Regions from separate parts of the Homo sapiens genome. Here regions 2, 3, 4, 5, 6 and 7 are each linked to region 1. The links are contacts of gene promoters, found by promoter capture Hi-C in blood cells and fetal thymus (Javierre and others, 2016). All regions are on one chromosome and are shown on one strand. Each heading gives the region's core, a stretch centred on a gene start or on the middle of the fragment in contact. The rest is flanking DNA. Distances are from core to core; before and after follow the strand shown. Region 1 holds the start of GBP5 (guanylate binding protein 5). Region 2 has its middle 5.4 kb from the start of GBP3. Region 3 overlaps LOC105378841 (a long non-coding RNA gene). Region 4 has its middle 61 kb from the start of LRRC8B. Region 5 overlaps LOC105378841 (a long non-coding RNA gene). Region 6 has its middle 79 kb from the start of LRRC8B. Region 7 has its middle 63 kb from the start of GBP6.

Region 1 (3,051 bases), core at 283-2,782:
TCTGGCATTTCACTCAATTCTTTCAGCTTGTTTTCTAAAAAAGCAAAAGTAAATAAACAACTATTTATTAACATCAGTATAACTGCTGGCTTATGAAAGAGAGTGAGCGAGCTGCAGGAGATTTTAAAAAGTGCAAAGAAGGAAAATGCCCAAAAAAAAATACTAAGAGAAAATGCTCAGAAGTGGTAGTGGAAGGATTTCTGAAAGAAAACATCTGTTTTCAGCCATATGATTCTAGTTTGGGTTTTGCGCCTGCATTTGTATATGTAGTTGTTATTGCTTGCTTTTGCTTATTTTGCATAGTTTCTGGTTTGAATTTCAAGGAAAAGGAAAAGGCTCTTATTAAGGATATAAATGGAAATCAAACTAGTACAAAATGCTTGAAGTATGTGTCATGGTAAGAAATTCAAAGGAGAGAATTTCAACGAGTGAACAGTTGCCAGACAGTATTGAGGGATCCAGTTGGGCAACTGTTAAATTAGGTGATTCATAATAGTAAAGGCAATAGAGTAGTAGAAGCAGAACCCAACACAAAAGGGGTTAGTTAAGTGAGTAGATGCCAAGAAACCAACATGAATTAAGTCAGGGCTATTGCTAAAGGAAGAAATCTACTTTCAAACAAAGTACAAGACTATGACTAAAAATACATCACTGTTTTCATGAAACTTCTCTCTGGGCAACATTTTTTTCTTGTCCTTAATGTTTGCAAGCTACTTACATTGCATCATATTCATTGTTCTTTCTCATGAAAATAATAGCTATCATAGTTTTTGAAACTTTCATGCTGAAGTTCGAGTCAGTTTAATCAGATTTTATGAAGGACGAAGGTAACTTAAGTGGAAATTATGATCCTGAATAAGTCATAAAATTGCAAAGGAAGAAAAATAATTTGAAGGCATTTCAAACTCTTAGTTTAGTCACCACACACATTGATGTCTAATTCAGCAAGAGGCAGACACAGCTGGTACTTGATGAATTCTGCTGCCTGTCTGATAAGAATACAATTTATTCTTTACTGAGGTCTGATATACCACATCAGGATAAGCTGCATCCTATCCTTTGTAGAATGTTTCTAAAACCAAATGAATCTTGCAAATCTCTTCCACCTCTTGCCCCAGTCTTACCGTGTCCGGAATTGGTGGGTTCTTGGTCTCACTGACTTCAAGAATGAAGCCGCGGACCCTAGCGTTGAGTGTCACGGTTCTTAAAGGTGGCGTGTCAGGAGTTTGCTCCTTCTGATGTTCGGATGTGTTTGGAGTTTCTTCCTTCTGGTGGGTTCGTGGTCTGGCTGGCTCAGGAGTGAAGCTGCAGACCTTCGCGGTGAGTGTTACAGCTCTTAAGGCTGCGCGTCTGGAGTTGTTTGTTCCTCCTGGTGGGTTCGTGGTCTCGCTGGCTTCAGGAGTGAAGCTGCAGACATTCCCAGTGAGTGTTACAGCTCATAAAGGCAGTGTGGACCCAAAGAGTGAGCAGCAGCAAGATTTATTGCAAAGAGTGAAAGAACAAAGGTTCCACAGCCTGGAGGGTGACCTCAGTGGGTTGCCACTGCTGGCTACTTCTCTTATCTGGCCCCACCCACATCCTGCTGATGGGTCCATTTTACAGAGAGCCGATTGGTCCATTTTACAGAGAGCTGATTGGTCTGTTTTGACAGGGTGCTGATTGGTGTGTTTACAATCCCTGAGCTGGACACAAAAGTTCTTCATGTCCCCACTAGATTAGCTAGATACAGAGTGTGGATTGGCCTATTTACAAACCTTGAGCTAGATACAGAGTGCTGATTGGTGCATTTACAAACCTTGAGGTAGATACAGAGTGCTGATTGGTGCATTTACAATCCCTTAGCTAGACATAAAGATTCTCCAAGTCCCCACCAGATTAAATAGATACAGAGTGCTGATTGGTGTATTTACAATCCCTTAGCTAGACATAAAGATTCTCCAAGTTCCCACTAGACTCAAGAGCCCAGCTGGCTTCACCCAGTGGATCTTGCACCGGGCGGCAGGTGGAGCTGCCTGCCAGTCCTGCTCCATGCACTGGCACTCCTCGGTCCTTGGGCCATGGATGGGACAGGGTGCTGTGGAGCAGGGGTCAGCACAGGTTGGGGAGGCTCAGGCAGCACAGGAACCCATGGCGGGGTGAGGTGGGGAGCGGGAGAGGGGAGGAGGCTCAGGCATGGCAGGCTGCAGGTCCCCAGCCCTGCCCCACCGGGAGGCAGCTAAGGCCCTGCAAGAAGTGGAGCACAGCAGCTGCTGGCCCAGGTGCTAAGCCCCTCACTGCCTGGGGCCGCTCCGAGTGCAGGTCCCTCAGAGCCCAAGCCCACCCAGAACTCGCGCTGGCCCTCAAGCACCGGGCGCAGCCCCAGTTCCCACCCCTGCCTCTCCCTCCACACCTCCCAGCAAGCTGAGGGAGCCAGCTCCGGCCTCGGCCAGCCCAGGAAGGGGCTCCCACAGTGCAGCGGAGGGCTGAAGGGCTCCTCAAGTGCCGCCAGAGTGGGTGCCCAGGCAGAGGAGGCACCGAGAGCGAGGGAGGGCTGCAAGGGCTGCCAGCACGCCGTCACCTCTCATTACCTTGATTATAAAATCGGGAGAAGAGGTATTTTAGAGCTAGTAAGAAAACTGCTTCCATGAGGGACTGGGCACGGTGGCTCACGCCTGTAATCCCAGCATGTTGGGTGGCCGAGGCGGGTGGATGACGAGGTCAGGAGATCTAGACCATCCTGGCTAACACGATGAAACCCCGTCTCTACTAAAAATATACAAAAAATTACCTGGGCATGGTGGCGGGCGCCTGTGGTCCCAGCTACTCGGGAGGCTGAGGCAGGAGAATGGCTTGAACCTGGGAGGCGGAGCTTGCAGTGAGCCGAGACTGCACCACTGCACTTCAGCCTGGGTGACAGAGCGAGACTCTGTCTCAAAAAAAAAAAAAAAAAGAAAAGAAAAGAAAAAAGAAAGCTGCTTCGATGAGAACTTGCTGAGTTCGAACTCTCGTCTTTTACTTTCACTGTGGTGATTTCTCATTTATTTTCTTCACTCAGTCCTGGGGTTTTTGTTC
Region 2 (3,051 bases), core at 289-2,788, 240 kb before region 1:
AAAGGGAACATTCTCAACTTTATAATGTCCTATGAAGTTTTATTTTGATATAATTTTAGACTTCAGAAAAGTGGCAAAATAGTACAAAGTTTCTGTACAGTCTTCCCCTCAGTTCCCCATATGTTATCATTTTAAATTTATTTTCTTTCTGTCTGAACTATTCAAGGGTTAGTGACAGACATAATGGCTTTTTATACCTAAAAACTTCAGTGTGTGTTTCTTAAAAAAGAGAAATTATTTTACAGAGCCACAGTATATTTGTGTAAAGTCCTTCTTAGGCCATAGACTTTTTTTCTAGTTTTTTATTTATTTATTTTTTTATACTTCAACTCTTAAGTTCAGGGGTACATGTGCAGGATGTGCAGGTTTGTTACACAGGTAAATGTGTGCCATGGTGGTTTGCTGCACAGATCATCCCATCACCTAGGTATTAAGCCCAGCATACCTTAGCTACTCTTCGTAATGCTGTCCCTTCCCAAAATCCCACCCCAACAGGCCCCAGTGTGTATGTTCCTCACCATGTGTCCATGTGTTCTCATTATTCAGCTCCCACTTATAAGTGAGAACACAGGGTGTTTGGTTTTGTGTTTCTGTGTTAGTTTGCTGAGGATAATGGCTTCCAACTTCCATCTCCATCCATGACCCTGCAAAGGACATGATCTCGTTCCTTTTTATGGCTGCATAGTTAACAGCTGGAATTCTGTGTCTCCTTCTTGGAGGGAAAACAATATGTAACAGACTCTTTAGACCTGTTCTTGCAAGTGTAACATGGATATGTGTCCTTAAGAAGCAAATATTAGTAGTTAATATCTGAATTTCTCTGCCCATCTACTTTACTGGGAAATGATAGAAGGTTGATTCAGGATTGGTGGAATCCTTTGGTGTCATTCTTGAAGCTCTTTAAGGTGAGGGACTGGAGCACTCGGTGTTGGGACTACCTACTCGTGCATTTGTCCCTGAGATAATAAACACTATTCACAAATTTTAAAATGTTCAAACTATTATGAGATCTTGGTTGGCATATCCCAGAACTAAAAGTCTGCATATGGTGTTTAGTTGGTAAATAATATTTACAAGAACAGATTTATTTACAAGGCATGGTTTTCCAACTGAGTGAATATAGAAGAACTCTCAAAATATGTTAAAGACTCCACGGAGCATATGAAGGCTTGAGTTTTTTTAATTCAATGTAAATCAAATAAAAGCACTTACCAAAGTGTTGAAGAACATTTGTTATCATTTTGAATGAATAGTGGCAATTATTGTATTTTAATTGAGGCTTGGTCTACATGAGGTTATGATTGAAAGTGACATTCCTGGAATAATGGATATTTCATGAGAATCATGAAACTATTTGCTGAATTTGATTCATTTTTACATGACTATCTGGAAAAAAGCCAAAATCAAAAAAAGACAAATGTGTCATCTGTATTCAAAATAGAGTAGAATGAATTAATCAAAACAAAAAATATAAAAATATTTGGAAAAAAACCAGACCCCCAAATACTAGTCCAGTATTGTAAGTTTTTCATGAGATTGGACAAATACTAATCAATTAACGATTATTATGAGTTGAAGGTATTATAGAAAACCCTGAAAGTTTGTAAATGTTTTCATTTCTTGCCACCTGAAAACAATCTTTCTGTGAGAAAGTGGAATATACTCGTTCTGGATGTTTGCAACATTCTATTGGACAGTATTTGTGGACAGTAGTATAACTATATCATATGACAATATAGCTATTATGAAAAGTAAAGATAAAGGATTGCATGCACTTTTTAAATTATACTTTAAGTTAGAGGGTACATGTGCACAATGTGCAGGTTTGTTACATAGGTATACATGTGCCATGTTGGTTTGCTGCACCCATTAACTTGTCATTTACATTAGGTGTTTCTCCTAATGCTTTCCCTCCCCCTGCCCCCCACCCCACGACAGGCCCTGGTGTGTAATGTTCCCCACCCCATGTCCCAGTGTTCTCACTGTTCAATTCCCACCTATGAGTGAGAAAATGCAGTGTTAGATTTTCTGTCCTTGTGATAGTTTGCTTAGAATGATGGTTTCCAGCTTCATCCATATCCCTGCAAAGGACATGAACTCATCCTTTTTTATGGCTGCAAAGTATTCCATGGTGTATATGTGCCACATTTTCATAATCCAGTCTATCATAGATGGACATTTTGGTTGGTTCCAAGTCTTTGCTATTGTGAATAGTGCCGCAATAAACACATATGTGCATGTGTCTTTATAGTAGCATGATTTATAATCCTTTAGGTATATACCCAGTAAGGGGATGGCTGGGTCAAATGGTATTTCTAGTTCTAGATCCTTGAGGAATCACCATACTGTCTTCCACAATGGTTTATCTAGTTTACACTCCCACCAACAGTGTAAAAGCATTCCTATTTCTCCAATCCTCTCCAGCAACTGCTGTTTCCTGACTTTTTAGTGAACGCCTTTCTAACTGGTGTGAGATGGTATCTCATTGTGGTTTTGATTTGCATTTCTCTGATGACTAGTGATGATGAGCATTTTTTCATGTGTCGGCTGCAAAAATGTCTTCTTTTGAGACTTCTCTCAAAATAAGACATATCCTTTGCCCACTTTTTGATGTGGTTGTTTGTTTTTTTCTTGTAAATTTGTTTAAGTTCTTTGTAGATTCTGGGTATTAGCCATTTGTCAGATGGGTAGATTGCAAAAATGGTCTCCCATTCTGTAGGTTGCCTGTTCACTCTGATGGAAGTTTCTTCTGCTGTGCAGAAGCTCTTTAGTTTAATTAGATCCCATTTGTCAATTTTGGCTTTTGTTGCCGTTGCTTTTGGTGTTTTAGTCATGAAGTCCTTGTCCATGCCTATGTCCTGAATGGTATTGCCCAGGTTTTCTTCTAGGGCGTTTATGATTTTAGGTCTAACATTTAAGTCTTTAATCCATCTTGAATTAATTTTTGTATAAGATGTAAGGAAGGGATCCAGCTTCAGCTTTGTACACATGGCTAGCCAGTTTTCCCAGCACCATTTATTAATAGGGAATAAATAGGGAATCCTTTCCCCA
Region 3 (3,051 bases), core at 273-2,772, 220 kb before region 1:
TGTAATAAGGTGTGAATGTGTGATCTTTTATGTAGCTATCATTAATATTTTTCATAATTTCTGTTTTGATTTTTTTTTATGAGACAGAGTCTGGGTCTGTCACCCAGGCTGGAGTGCAGGGGTGCAATCTCAGCTCCCTGCAACCTCTGCCTCTGCAGCTCAAGTGATCCTCCTGCCTAAGCCTCTTGAGTAGATGGGAACACAGGTGTGCACAACAACCTCTGACTAATTTTTTTTATTTATTTTTATTTTTTTCTGTAGAGATGGGGTCTCGCCATGTTTCCCAGGCTGGTCTCAAACTCCTAGATTCAAGCGATCCACCTGCCTTGGCCTCCCAAAGTGCTGGCATTATAGGCATGAGGCACCATGCCAGGCCTGTTTTGAAATTTCATACATATTTATAAAACATATTTTCAGGATGAGAGAATATACGAAGAAGTTACATAGCATTGTGTATCTGTATAGAATAAAAATGATCTAAATCAATGTCATCAGACCATGGCTTTATAGACACCATCTTCTAGTCAAATCACTCATCTGTTTTTACCCAGTACTCATACTGTGGGAAAAGTGTAGGGGCACAGAACAGTGAACACTTTCGGGAATGTTGGAATCATTCTGTATTAGAATTTTATTCTTATAAAAAATGTTGGTGAATCAGTCTGGATTAGGTCATGGAAACAACACACCATCAATCATCACGGAAAGAAGGTGTTTCATGTGGGAATTTTAAGAATATAGGACAAACAGGATGTGGGAGAGATGGGGTTTCAAGGTCTGATAAGGGAATATTTGGTGGGATAAAGAAATAGTGACGAAGCACTTCAGCCTGAAGAGACTTCTTAGAAACCTATCAGGCCCATATTTCCTTCTCCCAAAAGGCAAAAATAGTACTTAAGTTATCCTCACCAGGAGATTTGGCTACAGAAATGAATAACCCAATTTTTAATCTATTCAGCTAGTCTCACCACTGCTACCCAAAGAGCTACCTGAGAGTCTTGGAGACACAACTGAACACCAATGATAATCTCTTAGATTATAGCTGGGGATATTACCAAAGATGTGATTTACCCAGAAGGATTAACTCTAGTGAAGCAGCTAGATCAGGAAGGTTACTGGGGTCCGAGTTTGGACTATGCCCTGCTTGGAATGAGAATATGGTCAGAAATCTTGTACTGTTAATAGAATGACTGCTCCACTGGCCAAACCATCAGAGCACAGCAGAAGTCCCAAACTCCCTTGCTCATGTGGTCCTAGACAACTACATTGTTTTTGACTGTCTTCTTGCTGTACAGGGTGATGTTTGTGCTGTTGCTAACATTTGCTGCTGCACCTGGGTAAATACATCTAGTTAGATTGAATTGGACACATCTAAGATCCTAAAGTTAGCTAAATCTCTGAATGGGACACCTTCAAAAAGCCTCCTGGCTGGACTTCCTGGCTTGAATTTACAATTTCCAGATATTTTCAGCTGGCTTTTGTCTCTAGTCTAGGATACCTTCTGTGTTCCATCCTACAGATCTTAATGATCCTTCTATTTGGGCTAATCATTTGGGTACTCTTTTGAATTGTTCTAGCCTGTTTTTTTTGTTTGTTTGTTTTGTTTTGTTTGGAGATGGAGTTTCACACTTGTTGCCCAGGCTGGAGTGCAATGGTGGGATCTCGGCTCACTGCAACCTCCACCTCCTTGGTTCAAGCGATTCTCCTGCCTCAGCCTCCCGAGTAGCTGGGATTACAGGCACGCACCACCACACCCGGCTAGTTTTGTATTTTTAGTAGAGATGCATTTTCTTCATGTTGCTCAGGCTGGTCTCAAACTCCTGACCTCAGGTGATCCGCCCACTTCGGCCTCCCAGTGTGCTGAGATTACAGGTGTGAGCCACTGCGCCCAGCTCTTCTAGCCTGTTTTAACAGATATCTGCAAGAGGCTTGGATCATGCTGACCTAACCCAGGAAATTTTAAATTTACTCCAGACAGGAACCAGAATCAACATAACCTACGAGACTTTGATTAGAATCTAACAGGTACCTGAGTGCCTTTTGTAAGTAAATGGCTCTAGTTGCTCAATTGGCCACTGCTCTGCCACCAGGATCCCTAGAAGAGACCAGATAAACCTGAAGCACGTAGCTAATCACTTCCATGCCGTGATGGAATGCAGTGCTGTCTGCCAACAAGTTTGAGCCAGTCTTTCAAGATGCATCCTGAGTGGCTAACTGGGCCTGCATTTCAAGTTGAGCCAAGGGACCATTTGCTAACGAGGGGACACACACATGTTCTGAGTTCACCCAAAACACATACCTTATTATTTTGGGGCTTTTCAGCCCACCTGCCTCTGCTAATCAGGGCTCAGCTGTATTGACCCATTAGAACTCAGCTGGGTTGACCAATCAGAACTAAGTGAGTTTGGAGTTTTAATTCTCAATTGAATGAACAGACCTGATTGGGAACCTGCGTGGGAACTTTGGCTATTAAACCTGAGCATTCTTTCTGTTCTCTGGAAGAAATAATGTTTAAGTTGCTAACACTTTATGCATTTTCCTAAAATTGAATCAAACAACTCCTTTTGAAACATAACCCTGATATCAGGGAAGTCGTACAACACCGTGCTAAATAATTTTATACCTCTAACCAAGGTCTGTGCCCTAATCAGCAGGAAGTGCCAGAGTGTCTGTCACCCATTCTCCCTCAAGATTGAGAAATGAACAATGAAAAAAGGGGGATTTGAAAATGCAGAACCAGCCCAATGTGGTTCAAGTTTGTGTAATAAAATAATGCGTTGTTTTACTGTTGCCACGGTCTCCTGGTTTCAAGTTATGTTACCTGAGCATGCCCAGACACACTCTGCATGCAACCACGGTGGAACCTAAGTACTTGGACCAAGGAGCAGGGCTGATTTAAGAAGGAGACACCTCAGGGCTTAATCTGTGATCTGATCAGATCCAGCCCTGACATCACCTCATGGCACGATGCAGTCAGATCTTACCTCATTACCCTCTGTCTATAAAACCTGCCCCAACCCCCAGATCTGAGAGACAAATTTTTAGATATGC
Region 4 (3,051 bases), core at 148-2,647, 190 kb after region 1:
ATGATCTCTTCCTTTAAAAAGGTTCCAGGTAACTAGGAAGTGACTAGAAGTTATTAAGCTCCACAGGTAACTTTCTAGGAATTTCGCCATAAGCAAGCAGTGTGTGTCTAAAATCTGCTGCAAAGTGTTATCATTCTCTTAATCCATGGTTGACACATGCATTCTTATCACCATTAAAACATTTTCAAAATGGCTGTTACCCCAACACACACTTTTACAGTTTTGTTAGTCCTTTTGCCCCCAGTGACTCTGTGGCCAGCCCTAGGCAGCACGGTTTTGTAGAGCATGCCCCAAATTCTGGGCTGAACTCAGCGTGACCCTTGCCTCATTTCTCCCATTGGCTCTTTCCAACTCCAGCATGCTTTGGATAGTTCAGTCCACACCTGGCAGAGACTAAGTACCGACTAATTGTTGACCTAAGATTTTTTCCCCCCAAGTTTAAGTTGAATCACTTTAAGTAAAATTTAACCAAACCAACCATCATATTCCTTAGTGTTGAACTGCTACAGTAATCAACTGATGCTTCTTCTATATTTACTAATTTCACATAATTGAGCATCTTCTGCAACTGGTTACTTTTCAGAAAGGCCAAATGAGACCATATAGGAAAGAATCTTTTTTATCTTGGGTGGGAAAGATCTTTTTAAGAAGACTCCAAAACAATTACACATCATAGAGGGAAAATCGTTGAATTTCTTTTCATTAAGGGAACCCTCAAATCCATAAAATACAGATGACTTGGCAAAGCTAGTTACAGCACCTAAAATTGATGTAATATCTACATCTGGGTATATGTAGAATATATAACATTATAATATATATATACACATATATATGTGATAAAGTTAGCAAAAGCCTGAGAGGTTTCAACAAGAAATTTTAAATGTATTAACCCAATAAAGAAGTAATATCTAGAACATTCAAGACATACCAACAAATTAACAAGCAACTAAAACAAAAAGCTAGTTAAGCCAATAATGAGCAAATAATTTATATCCATATAAATTATGCATACTATTTGTATCCATAGGATGGAAAAACCTGAAAACTAGTAAATATATAGTGCTCAACCCTACTAGTGTTAAAAAATTAAAAAATAAATCTGATACCACTTTGTAACTATCACCTGTAAAAAAAAAAAAAATCAGAGTCAGAAAACACTAAATGTCAGCAAACCAATGCTAAACAAGAACATTTGTTCTTCTGGTAGAAGAAGAAATGGTATAGTCTTTCTAGAGAGCAATCTGGCAATACTTGTACCATAAGCCTTCTTCCAACTGCTGAATGTATATCCCAGAGCAACTCTTTCCAACTTCTCTACAGGGACATGTAAATGCATAGGCATCTATGGCAGGGGATACTGAAGCACCCTAGATGACCATAGCCAGAGAGGAAAACTAACATGCTGGATGGACAAATCTTGAACAACACAAAAGTGAGTGGAAAAAAATAAGAAACATTAAATGTATTTTACATCCCATTTAATTAGAAACACACACGTATAAAATAATGCTATATGATTTTATATAAAATATGTACATTCAAAGACACATAGCAAGTGTGTTAAACAGGACTTATTGAAAAGGCAGGGGAAGAAATGGGAATGATAACTGGAGGGGAAAGATAAAAATATTAAAATTAAGGTAACAGTAAACAAAACTGGTCCCTTGCACAGATAAATATTGAGAAGTACACTGAGTTAGAAGCAAGGCTCAGCTTCAGTTGTGATAGCCTCATTTACTGAGACCTTGATCTGTACTAGTTATTGTACTAATCGCTTCACATATGTTATTTTAATCCTCACACAAAAACACGCACAGACATATAGAACTCATATTATTATTCCCATTTTACAGATGAAGAAGCAGAAACTCAGAGAAATTATATTTTTTGCCTAAGGTCAAACAGCTAGTAAGTGGTATAGCTGGGGTTTTAATGCAGGTCTACATGACTCTGAATCTCATACACTATATTATCTGCTATCTGTTCATATATTCAAGAAATAAGTGAAGGTACCAAAAATAAGTTCATTCTTTCTGACCGCATTCCCCAATCATCCATCATTGACCACTGTGGTTTCTTTGGTAGGCTGAATGATGCCCCTTAGATGTGCCCACATCCTGACCTCAAAAACCTCTGAATGTTTCCTTGTATGGTAAAAGAAACTTTGCAGGTGTGATCCAGTCAAGGATCTTGAGATGAGGGGCTTCTCCTACATTACTCAAGGAAGCACAATAAAGTCAAAAGGGTATTTACACGAAAGACATTGGAGAAGTCAGAGAGGAGTAGGAGACATGATGATGATGGAAGCAAAAGGTGGAAGTGATCCCAGGAAGGGGCCATGACCAAGGAGTGCAGGGGCCTCTAAGGGCTGAAAACGGCGAGGAAACTGATTTTTCCCTAGAGACTCCAGAAGAATCCAATGCCTTGATTTTAGCCCCATGAGACCCATTTTGGACTTCTGACCACCCTCCAGAATTGTAAGAGTTTATATTGTGTTCTTTAAACCACTAAATTTGTGGTAATTTGTTACAGTGGCAACAGGAAACTAATACACTTAGAAATCATTCAGATTCACTTCAAGATATTTCAAGCTGTCATAGGAGTAGTAGTTACATTTCCAACAGCGAACAATAGCTAAGTAATGCCAAATCCAGAACTAGAATCCAGATCTCTTGACCGCCTCAGTGCTAGGCTCTTTCCACTACACATAGCTGTCAACAAGTATAAGTCTCTGAAGTAATAGCTATAGAGAATTTAAAATCAAGTAAAATGTAGACATTAAAAGTGGACACCTTGTTTCCAAGGGAGCACTGTGGTTCTGTTACAGAGAATACCCCAAGATATACAAAGAAATCTTTCTGCACTTAAACTTCTATACTGGCTATTTGTGATGTAGAACAATTCAGGTTTGATTCACCTGCACTAGCAATGCTATCTACATATACGAATGTGTTCTTAATACAAATCACTTTTACAGGGCAAGGACAATTTTTAAAATGTATTATTGAATTTTGAAAATGTTAATAATGTTAAAAAAAATTACTGAAT
Region 5 (3,051 bases), core at 402-2,901, 180 kb before region 1:
GTCTGATTTCTATAAATGTTCAAAAAATTTAAAGTATAGAGTATTAGATTAAGTTGCATCTGGGGAGTGTTAATACTCCTTACTGTTTCTTCCTTTTTTTTTTTTGTTTAACCAATTGAGCTTTCAGTGTTCTATTAGTTCTTTAAATTATGGCCTGTCTTTGGGAATTATAGGGAATTCCTGTTTTATGTGTAATTTTTCACTGATTTAAGAATTTTTGAAAAGCTTTACTACAGTATCCTGGCCCATTGTCCATTTTAATTTTTTTTTTTAACTCTCATGACAGCAAAACAAGATAATAAATGTCTTTTAACATGGGAAGTACTTTCTCCTCTCTGGCAGGTTGCCCATATGAAATGTGAATAAGTATCAACTGTCACATGGACAAATGACAATTTTCCAAATGAAGGTACATGCGTGACATCCATTTGCCATAACACATTAGGACTTAGACCTCTGGGATTAACTCCTGCCTCCTGAGTGGGCAGGTGTAGAATCTGACACCGGGTGCAATCTTGTACAATATTTTTTGGCTGTTTCCATGTGATATCAAATTTATTTTTAATCCTGCTGCATTTACATGAGTCAAGGCATGAAGTTCTTGTGCTTCCATGAATGCAGATGATACTAGCAAGTCAGCTTGTTCATTTGCTTTAGCCAAAGGCCATGGTAAATTAGGGTGTGCTCGAATATGAGTAATACAAAATGGGAAATTTCTTTTTCTTACAGTTTGTTGTAACAAATTAAACAGCTCGTTTAACTGATAATCCATACTATATTTGAGTAGGGCTGTCACATGGTTGGAACCTCCGGTTGAGGTTTATGTTAATAATAGTGTTTGGATGCCTGAGCCTACAGATACTTGTGGGCCTCTCACCCAGAGGAGGAAGGAATGTTAATAAATGTGTCCATGGGTTATCAGTTCCCTCCTGTTTGCATAGTTCCCTTGGCTGCGGGTGGGAGGTCCCCGGCTTCTTGCACTTCCTGGGTGAAGCAACGCCCCACCCTGCTTCTGTTCGCCCTCAGTTGGTTGAACCCACTGCTTAACCGTCCCAATGAGATGAACTGGGTACCTCAGTTGGAAATGCAGAAATCACTTGCCTTCTGCGTGGGTTTCACGGTGCTGCAGACCGGTGCTGTTCCTATTCGGCCATCTTGGTCCCTCCCCTCAACTGGCACTCTTTAAATAATAAAAATCTTATGAGAATCATCAAACCGTTTGCTGAATTTGATCCATTCTCTCATGAGTACTTGGAAAAATGGCAGTGTGTGAAAATAAATATGACAATTGTATCCAAAATAAATTATGAAGACTTAATTGAAATAGAAATAGGCACATAGAAAGTGAAATGTTAAATAAATAAAGCAGGTTCTAAAAACTACTTCCTTATTAGATTTTATACCAGATTGGATAAATACTGATCCTTGATTCTTACAAGCTAACACTATTACAAAAAATCTTGAAATATTTTTTCTAACTCAAATTATTTATCTGACTATATTCAACAAATGAAACAAATTCTAGTTGATTGTAACATGCCATTGAACAGGATTTGTGGGATTAGTCTGACTCTGTGCTATGATAATATAGCTATTATGAAAAGTAAGGATTAAAGATGTGTGCACTCTTTAAAAACATCACTAAATAAACAGAATGTGCTATATGGATCTTATTCTCTTTTATAAGGGAATAAGCTGACCTCATAGTACTGAAAATGTTAAATACTAAGGTATTTTCAAGTTATATTTTCTTTTTGGATTCATCATGAAGAAGAGTGTATTATGCACACAGATCAATGTGCATTTTCTTAATTTTTATTCTTTATGGATACATAATAGTTGTATGCATTTATGGGTTACATGTGATATTTTGATACAAAAATAAAATATGCAATGATCAAATCAGGATAATTGGGATATCCTTCACCTCAAGCATTTATCATTTCTTTGTGTTCGGAATATTCCAATTCCACTCTTTTAGTTTTTTGAAATATGGGTACAAAAATATAGTTAGAAGAAATAAGATTAATGTTGTTAAAAATAGTTTAAATGAAATGTCTACTTGTGATGACAAAGGGAAGGAAATATAAAATAAGTGGTAGGGGAGGGATAGGATGAACGTCAATTCTGCCTTTGATTGAAGTTGCAGGAGCAAACTGTGGTATGTGCCACCAACTCCTGTGTATTAAGTTTTTTGTAGAACTGTAGCTGGTTATGAACTTGAGGACTTGGTAACAGACTGAATTTAATGTAGGGCAGGCACAGTGATCAGAGTGCTGAAGGGGTGAACTGTGTCAGATGCATCTGATACACTGACTCATCCTCTCAATGTCTCCTCTCATCCCAGCTGTGACTGGAATGGAGAGTTCAAAGGAATTCAAGCTGATAGCATCTTGCTTTAGGACAGATGTTTCTTGTCTTTCTGTTCAATCCTAAGGCCATTTCTATACAACGGACACTTTTTTTTTTCTGTATTAAGAGTCTGTTTATTTCAGTATTAAGGTAAAAGAACCTAGTTATAATAAGTGTTTTTCATATCTTTCTTCATCATTCTCACAACAAATATATGAGAAGAATGACGCTTAAAAGGTATGTAACTTTCTGAGGTGAGGCAACTAGTAGGTTGTAGAATTGGTTTTTGAATGCAGATTTCTCTCCTTCTTTCTCCACTGTTCTTTCTCACCCTTGTTTGCACTAGTGATCCTATCTTCTTTCTACAGCAGCAATATTTATTTTAACAAACCTACATAATTTATAGACCACGCTAATTTTTTTGTCTTTAAAGTAGTAACTTTGTGTGAATATTCCAATAATATTATTTTTTATAAAAGAAATTTAGGGCACCCTTCAGCGTTTACCTTCAAAGGCAGGTTATGAGTCCTGGGAGAAGAGTTTTACTTCATATCTTGTCACATTGTATATGTCTAAAATTGATGGTGAATTGGTTACTGACAATTATCATAAAGTTTGGTAGTGGATAATTTAAAAAGATTCTTAATGGATAAAAGATATGAGACATCTCCGTTGACTTTAGGGAAAAAAAAGTGTGTT
Region 6 (3,051 bases), core at 211-2,710, 170 kb after region 1:
ACCTGCCACCACACCCGGCTAATTTTTTGTATTTTTAGTAGAGATTGGGTTTCACCGTGTTAGCCAGGATGGTCTCGATCTCCTGACCTCGTGATCTGCCTGCCTTGGCCTCCCAAAGTGCTGGGATTACAGGCATAAGCCACCACGCTCAGCCCGGTTCTTTTTTTTTTTTTTTTTTAAATCCATTCAGGCACTCTTTCTTTTGATTGGATAGTTTAGTCCATTTACATTCAATGTTACTAATAAGTAAGGACCTACTCCTGCATTTTGTTATTTTTTTCTGGTTGTTTTGTAGTCTTTTCTTTTCTTCCTTAGATTATTACTGTCTTCCTTTTACTGAAATTGATTTTCTCTGATGGTACAATTTAATTTCTTGTTCTTTACTTTTTGTGTATCCATTGTATATTTTTTTGATTTAAGCTTACTATAAGGCTTGCTAGTACTAGCTTATAACCCATTATTTTAAATTGATGACTACTTAACACTAATTGCATAAACAAAGAAGCAAAAAGAAAACTAATAAAAACTCTACACTTTATCTCCCCACTTTGTAACTTTTGTTGTTTCTCTTAATGTCTTAGTATACTATCTATGTCTTGAATAATTGTTGTAGTTCTTATTTTTTATTGGTAATATCCTGTGTTTTTCTGTATACCTCATATTACTAGTGAGTTTTGTAACATCAGACAATTTCTTATTGCTCAATAACATCCTTTTCTTTCAGATTGAAGAACTCCCTTTAGCATTTCTTGTAGGACAGGTCTGATGTTGGTGAAATCTCTCAGCTTTTGTTTCTTTGGGAAAGTTTGTATTTCTCCTTCATGCTTGAAGGATATTTTTACTGGAGATACTAATTTGGGTAAAAGTATTTTTTTTCCCTCAGCACTTTAAATATGTCATGCCACTCTCTCTTAGCCTACAAGATTTCCAATGAAAAGATTTCCACTGAAAAGTCTGCTGACTGAGGTATTGGAGCTCTACTGTACATTGTTTCTTTTCTCTTGCTTCTTTTAGGATTCTTTCTTTATCTTTGTCCTTTGGGAGTTTGATTATTAAGTACCTTGAGGTAGTATTGTTTGGACTAAATCTTCTTGGTGTTCTATAATCTTCTTGTACTTGAATTTGATATTTTTCTCTAGGTTTGGAAAGTTCTTAAATATTATCCCTTTAAATAAACTTTCTACTCCTATCTCTTTCTCTACCTCCTCTTTAAGGCCAATAACTCAGATGTGCCTCTTTGAAGCTATTTTCTAGATTTAGTAAGCATGCTTCATTCTTTGGCATTATTTTTTCCTGTGTCTCCTCTGGCTGTGTATTTTCAAATAATATGTCTTCAAGCTCACTCATTCTTCTGTTTGATCAGTTCTGCTATTAAGAGATTCTGATACATTCTTCAGTATATCAATTGCATTTTTCTTCAACTCTAGAATTTCTGCTAGATCCCCTTTAATTATTTCAACCTCTTTGTTAAATTTATCTGATAGAATTCTGAACTCCTTCTCTGTGTTAACTTGAATTTATTTGAGTTTTCTCAAAACAGTTATTTTTTATTCTCTGTCTCCACAGTCATATAACTCTTTCTCCAGGATTCGTCCCTGGCGCCTTATATAGTTCATTTGGTGAGGCATGTTTTCCTAGATGGTCTTGATGCTTGTGGATGTTTGTCAGTGTCTGGGCTTTGAAGAGTTAGGTACTTATTTTAGTCTTCACAGTCTGGGCTTATTTGTGCCCATATTTCTTTGGAAGGCTTTTCCGGTACTCAAAGGAATTTGGGCCTCAGCCCCAATAATGCTGTGATTTTTTAATACTCCAAGGTACCATCTTGATGGTCATGGATTAGATCCAGAAGAACTATCTGGATTGCCAGGAATATAATCTTGTTCTTTCCCCTTACTTTCACCCAAACAAATGGAGTATGTCTTTCTCTGTGCTGAGCCACCTGGAGCTAGGGGTGAGGTGACACAACTACCACCGTAGCTACCACCACAGGGATTGCACTGAGTCAGATCTGAAGCCAGAATAGCACTGAGTCTTGACCAAGGTCCACTGTAACCACTACCTGGCGACTATCTATGTTCACTTAAGGGCCTAGGGCTCTACAGTCAATAGGTGGTGAAGCCAGTCTGATTTCTGTTCTTCCTTTCAGGGCAACAAGTTCCCTCAGGTCCTGGGTGGGTCCAGAGATGCTGTCTGGGAGCCAGGGATTAGGATCAGAAATCTTAGAAATTCACCTGGTGTTCTATTCTACTGAGGCTAAGCTAGCCTTCAACCCATAAGACAAAATCCCTCCCACTATTCCCTCCCTTTCCATAGGCAAAGGAGCCTCTCTCAATAGCCACCACCACTACCAGCCCATGGGGAGTTCTTCCAGGCCACTGCCAATATTCACTTAAAGTCCAAGGGCTATTCAGTCAGCTTGTAGTGAATGCCAGGCCTGAGAATCACCCTTCAGTGCAATGGGCTCCCATCTGGTCTAGGGCAGGTCCAGAAATACTGTCCAAAAGCTTAGGCCTGGACTCAGGGATCCCAACAGCCCACTAGGTGCTCTGCCTCACTGGGGTCAAGCTGTACTTCAGGTACAAGACAAAGTCCTCTTTGCTTTTCCCCCTGCTTTTCTCAAGCAGGAGTCTTTCACCATAGCCACCACAGCTGGGAATATGCTATGTCTCACCTAAAACCAGGACATCTCCAGTCTTATCCAAGGCCCATAACATACTACCTGAGTATCACCCTTGGTTATTGAGGTCCCAAGGGCTCTTTAGTCAGCAGGTGATGAATCCTGCCAGGACTGGGTCATACTCTTCAGGGAAGCAGTTTCCCTTCTAGTCCAGGGTATATCTAGAAACGTAGTATGGGAGCTAGGGCCTGAAATATAGGGGTCAAGACTCTGCTTGTGTCCTATCCTATTGTGCTGACCTGGTATTGAAGATGCAAAATGAAGCCATCTTTACTTTCCACTCTCCTCTCCTCAAGGAGAAGGAAGGAGTCACTTTCATTGCTGTGAGCTGAGCTTCCTGGGGATGGAGGAGGGGAGGTACAAGCACTCCCTTA
Region 7 (3,051 bases), core at 326-2,825, 150 kb after region 1:
AGCAAAATGTATGGCTGAAACTCTCTCTTAGCTAAAGGATTCGCAGGAGAAGAAATCACTGAGCCTGGATGCCCAAGCAAAAGTATAATGAAAATTAAGGCTAGAGAAAAGTTTAAGAGAAAATTAAATAACAAATCATTGAATGTGGAAACCAGATAGAATATTTCAATTTTCCCGATGCCACACTTTATTCAGCCTCCGTTTGTCCCTCTTTAGGAACAAGAGCGACTACTAAAAGAGAGATTTGAAAACGTAAGCAGAAGAATCCAAAATGAGATACAGAATCTCCAGAGGACAATGATACAACCAAGGACATGTACCATAAACTAAAGACCAGAGCCTTCCTGTCACCCCTACCCAAGGCATAATTGAAACAATTTTAGAATTTGGAACAAGCGACACTACATTTGATAATAATTAGATCTTGCATCATAACACCAAAATTTATAAAGGCATGCAGTACAATGATCAAAATCATGTTTTTTCCAAAAAAAAAAAGACTGTAAATTGTGCAAAAAAGATGCATTTACCTCTGTACCAACTCAGGAAGGTTCATGAGCTGGTACCACCCAGGAGTTTATTCTTCCAGATGACCAGCAGTAGACAAATGGGTACTGAGCAGAGTCTTAGGTAAAAGTCTTGGGAAATATTTGGGCATTGGTCTGGCCAAGTCTACAATGTCCCAATATCAAGGACAACCACCCTGGCTTCTTAGTGAAGACAATGTACAGTTATCCATTAGATCAGGGCTACACAGTCTATGAGCAATAATGTGATTTGTGGACATTGCCCATGTATTGTCCTCACTGATGATTTCAAGCTAAAGCAAACCACCTTATACAGAGATCTAGAATCCCTTTATGTTCTCCAGAGGTAGGTGGAAGAAACCATGAGCAGGAGCAGGAATTGAGTGATAAACAAATGGGCTAAAGAAGAAAACTTTTCTTCTTGTTCAGTTCATCCAGATTATAACTTTAATGGGACACTTTAGACCATTAGACAGTTGACACTGGATTAAACAAAGTCACATAATGCCAATTACACACTGTATTTATGGCAATGTATAATTTGCAAAGATTGACTTTAAAAGATGCTGTGTAACAGAATTGAATTAATTCAATTACTTATTATTTAGAATGCTAAAGCTTATGCTAGTCTTTTCTAATTCTTAACACTCATACTTGAAATCTTGCTGAGTTTCCCCAGAAGAGAATATCGGATGTTTTTTGACATTTTTGACCCATTTAATAATGTTCTTGTGTTTACTTAGTATACATAGACTTTATCTCATGTGTCAAAAGTCCTAGGAAAGTGGTTGATGTTTCTTATAGCAATTAAAAATTATTTCTGAACTGTAAATACAATGTATTTCACTAGGCTTCTTATTTCTGATTAAGTTTTCTTTTTGCAGTTATTTTTGTCAGAAAAGAAGGTTTTAGTCTTTATAGCAATGGTTGGCAATCTTTTCTGAAAATACCAGATAGTAACTATTTATGACTTCGCAGGTCATACAGTCTGTCTCAAGTACTCAGCTCTGCATGTAGTGCAAATGCAGCCATAGAAAATACATAAACCAATAGGTGTGGCTATGTTCCAATCAATTTTTATTTTCAATAACAGGGTGGCACCCATAAGCCATAGTTTGCAGAACTCTGATTTACAGACACATTGGTCAAAGTTTTATATACCGGCCTTGTGTAACTCACACGTACAAAAATCATATGGATTAGATTATATATATTAGAATCTTGAAAAAACTATGTGGTTATTCAAAATAACACAGTGAGAAAAAAGGAGGGAAGCAGTTAATGCCATTAAATCCACATTAATAATTCTGTCTTTTCTAATTGCTTTGAGGCCTTTTATTACCTTGAGCTACCTCTGATCCAATCACATGGCAAATGCCTCCTTTCATAATAGAGCATGGTGCTGTTTCCTCACTTGAACTGAAACTTCATAGAAGACCAGGTGAGACCACAGAATACTAGATGAAATGTTCATGTAGGTAAGCTTTATATTTTCTTCCAAGCTCCATTGCTACAAAGGTGTAAATAAAATACATTTTTATGAGTTGAAGTAACTTCATGGTAGAAAATAATAACTCTGCCTTCAAAAGCAAATAATGGTTTCTTTGTTAACCAATAAAGCATAAGAAAATGAAAAATCAGCAAAACTGAGTTACTTCCTCCCCAGTTTGGTAGCATTAATATTTAGACCACATTCCAAAGCATCTGACTTGGTTTAGTACTTTTCTCTAGCATATGCCAGAATAGAATCAAGCTCTCTCCAGGGAGGCATGTTGCTTTCCTGCCCTTAGACCCTCCAATGGTGTGCAAGTGTGCAGGCTATGGTGAGTGGGGCCAGGAAATCACCAGGCCCCTGGATGGCATGCTTGGGTCCCAGTGGCAGGTGACCTGGGCCTGCTGTCAGACTTCCTGATGTTGCATGCACATGCCCACAGCTACAGTTGAGGCAGCATGATCCCCAGGCCCTGGGCAGCATGTTTGCATGGTGGGTGGTGTGAGAGCCTGTCCTCAGGACACAGAACAGTGTCTGGGTAGACCAGCTCCAGGACCATTGGAGGCACATGCAGATGCTTGGTGGCCCTGCTTCCGGTGGAAGGTTGAGAGGGTTGCTGTTGGTGGCAGTGGCCCCAGGCAAGTGGCTTTCAGAAACTGAGGAGTGTGCATTTAGGCTCCCTTTGTCCTGGGGGCAGCCTCCCTGGTGTGGTGCACTGCTGTTCCTTACTGCACCACTGGATTCAGCCCACGGGACAAAGTTGCAGCCCTCTGGGTGGAAATGAAGAGATGTCCGCAGGGTTCCAGGGACGTGGAGATGATGGGGCTGTTCGCCCCAGAGCAAGATACAGTCTGATGGGGGCTGGGCTTTCAAAATAGTGCTGCACGGCAGCTCCTTGAGTCTTGGGAGTGTCAGTTACCTAAACCAATGCAGGCCGTTTGCCTGATTGCAATGGAAAGCCAAACAAGGAAGCACAAGGATTTTTTAGAGGGAAAGGTTTATTTTTAGTCGACTAGGAAGTAGATGGGAGAA

What was found. Contacts are between HindIII fragments. The CHiCAGO score rates a contact against its expected background, and 5 or more counts as called.
Region 2: a fragment that was not itself captured here is called in contact with the fragment with the promoter of GBP5 in region 1 in 9 of 17 cell types (non-activated CD4 T cells, naive CD8 T cells, naive CD4 T cells and 6 more); the score reaches 19.3 in non-activated CD4 T cells.
Region 3: a contact is called between a fragment that was not itself captured here and the fragment with the promoter of GBP5 in region 1, in 8 of 17 cell types (total CD8 T cells, total CD4 T cells, naive CD8 T cells and 5 more). The highest score is 13.1, in total CD8 T cells.
Region 4: a contact is called between a fragment that was not itself captured here and the fragment with the promoter of GBP5 in region 1, in 2 of 17 cell types (activated CD4 T cells and total CD8 T cells). The highest score is 5.7, in activated CD4 T cells.
Region 5: a fragment that was not itself captured here is called in contact with the fragment with the promoter of GBP5 in region 1 in 7 of 17 cell types (activated CD4 T cells, non-activated CD4 T cells, naive CD4 T cells and 4 more); the score reaches 16.4 in activated CD4 T cells.
Region 6: a fragment that was not itself captured here is called in contact with the fragment with the promoter of GBP5 in region 1 in 5 of 17 cell types (activated CD4 T cells, total CD8 T cells, naive CD8 T cells and 2 more); the score reaches 9.4 in activated CD4 T cells.
Region 7: a fragment that was not itself captured here is called in contact with the fragment with the promoter of GBP5 in region 1 in 2 of 17 cell types (activated CD4 T cells and total CD8 T cells); the score reaches 5.8 in activated CD4 T cells.

The regions. Positions count from the first base shown.
Region 1 is chr1:89,271,328-89,274,378 of GRCh38, forward strand. It overlaps GBP5 (guanylate binding protein 5), which reads right to left and starts at 1,533. Exons shown (of 12, transcript NM_052942.5): 1 at 1,125-1,533. It also overlaps the pseudogene LOC100421401. The HindIII fragment of the contact is 6,725 bases long and covers 1-3,051 here.
Region 2 is chr1:89,026,751-89,029,801 of GRCh38, forward strand. No RefSeq gene overlaps it. Among named protein-coding and RNA genes, the nearest start is that of GBP3, 5.4 kb to the left of the region's middle. The HindIII fragment of the contact is 5,231 bases long and covers 1-3,051 here.
Region 3 is chr1:89,047,254-89,050,304 of GRCh38, forward strand. The region is part of intron 2 of LOC105378841 (a long non-coding RNA gene); the gene reads left to right. Among named protein-coding and RNA genes, the nearest start is that of GBP1, 16 kb to the right of the region's middle. The HindIII fragment of the contact is 7,509 bases long and covers 1-3,051 here.
Region 4 is chr1:89,462,084-89,465,134 of GRCh38, forward strand. No RefSeq gene overlaps it. Among named protein-coding and RNA genes, the nearest start is that of LRRC8B, 61 kb to the right of the region's middle. The HindIII fragment of the contact is 6,077 bases long and covers 1-3,051 here.
Region 5 is chr1:89,087,830-89,090,880 of GRCh38, forward strand. The region is part of intron 4 of LOC105378841 (a long non-coding RNA gene); the gene reads left to right. Among named protein-coding and RNA genes, the nearest start is that of GBP1, 24 kb to the left of the region's middle. The HindIII fragment of the contact is 2,856 bases long and covers 224-3,051 here.
Region 6 is chr1:89,444,288-89,447,338 of GRCh38, forward strand. No RefSeq gene overlaps it. Among named protein-coding and RNA genes, the nearest start is that of LRRC8B, 79 kb to the right of the region's middle. The HindIII fragment of the contact is 2,084 bases long and covers 419-2,502 here.
Region 7 is chr1:89,425,914-89,428,964 of GRCh38, forward strand. No RefSeq gene overlaps it. Among named protein-coding and RNA genes, the nearest start is that of GBP6, 63 kb to the left of the region's middle. The HindIII fragment of the contact is 865 bases long and covers 1,144-2,008 here.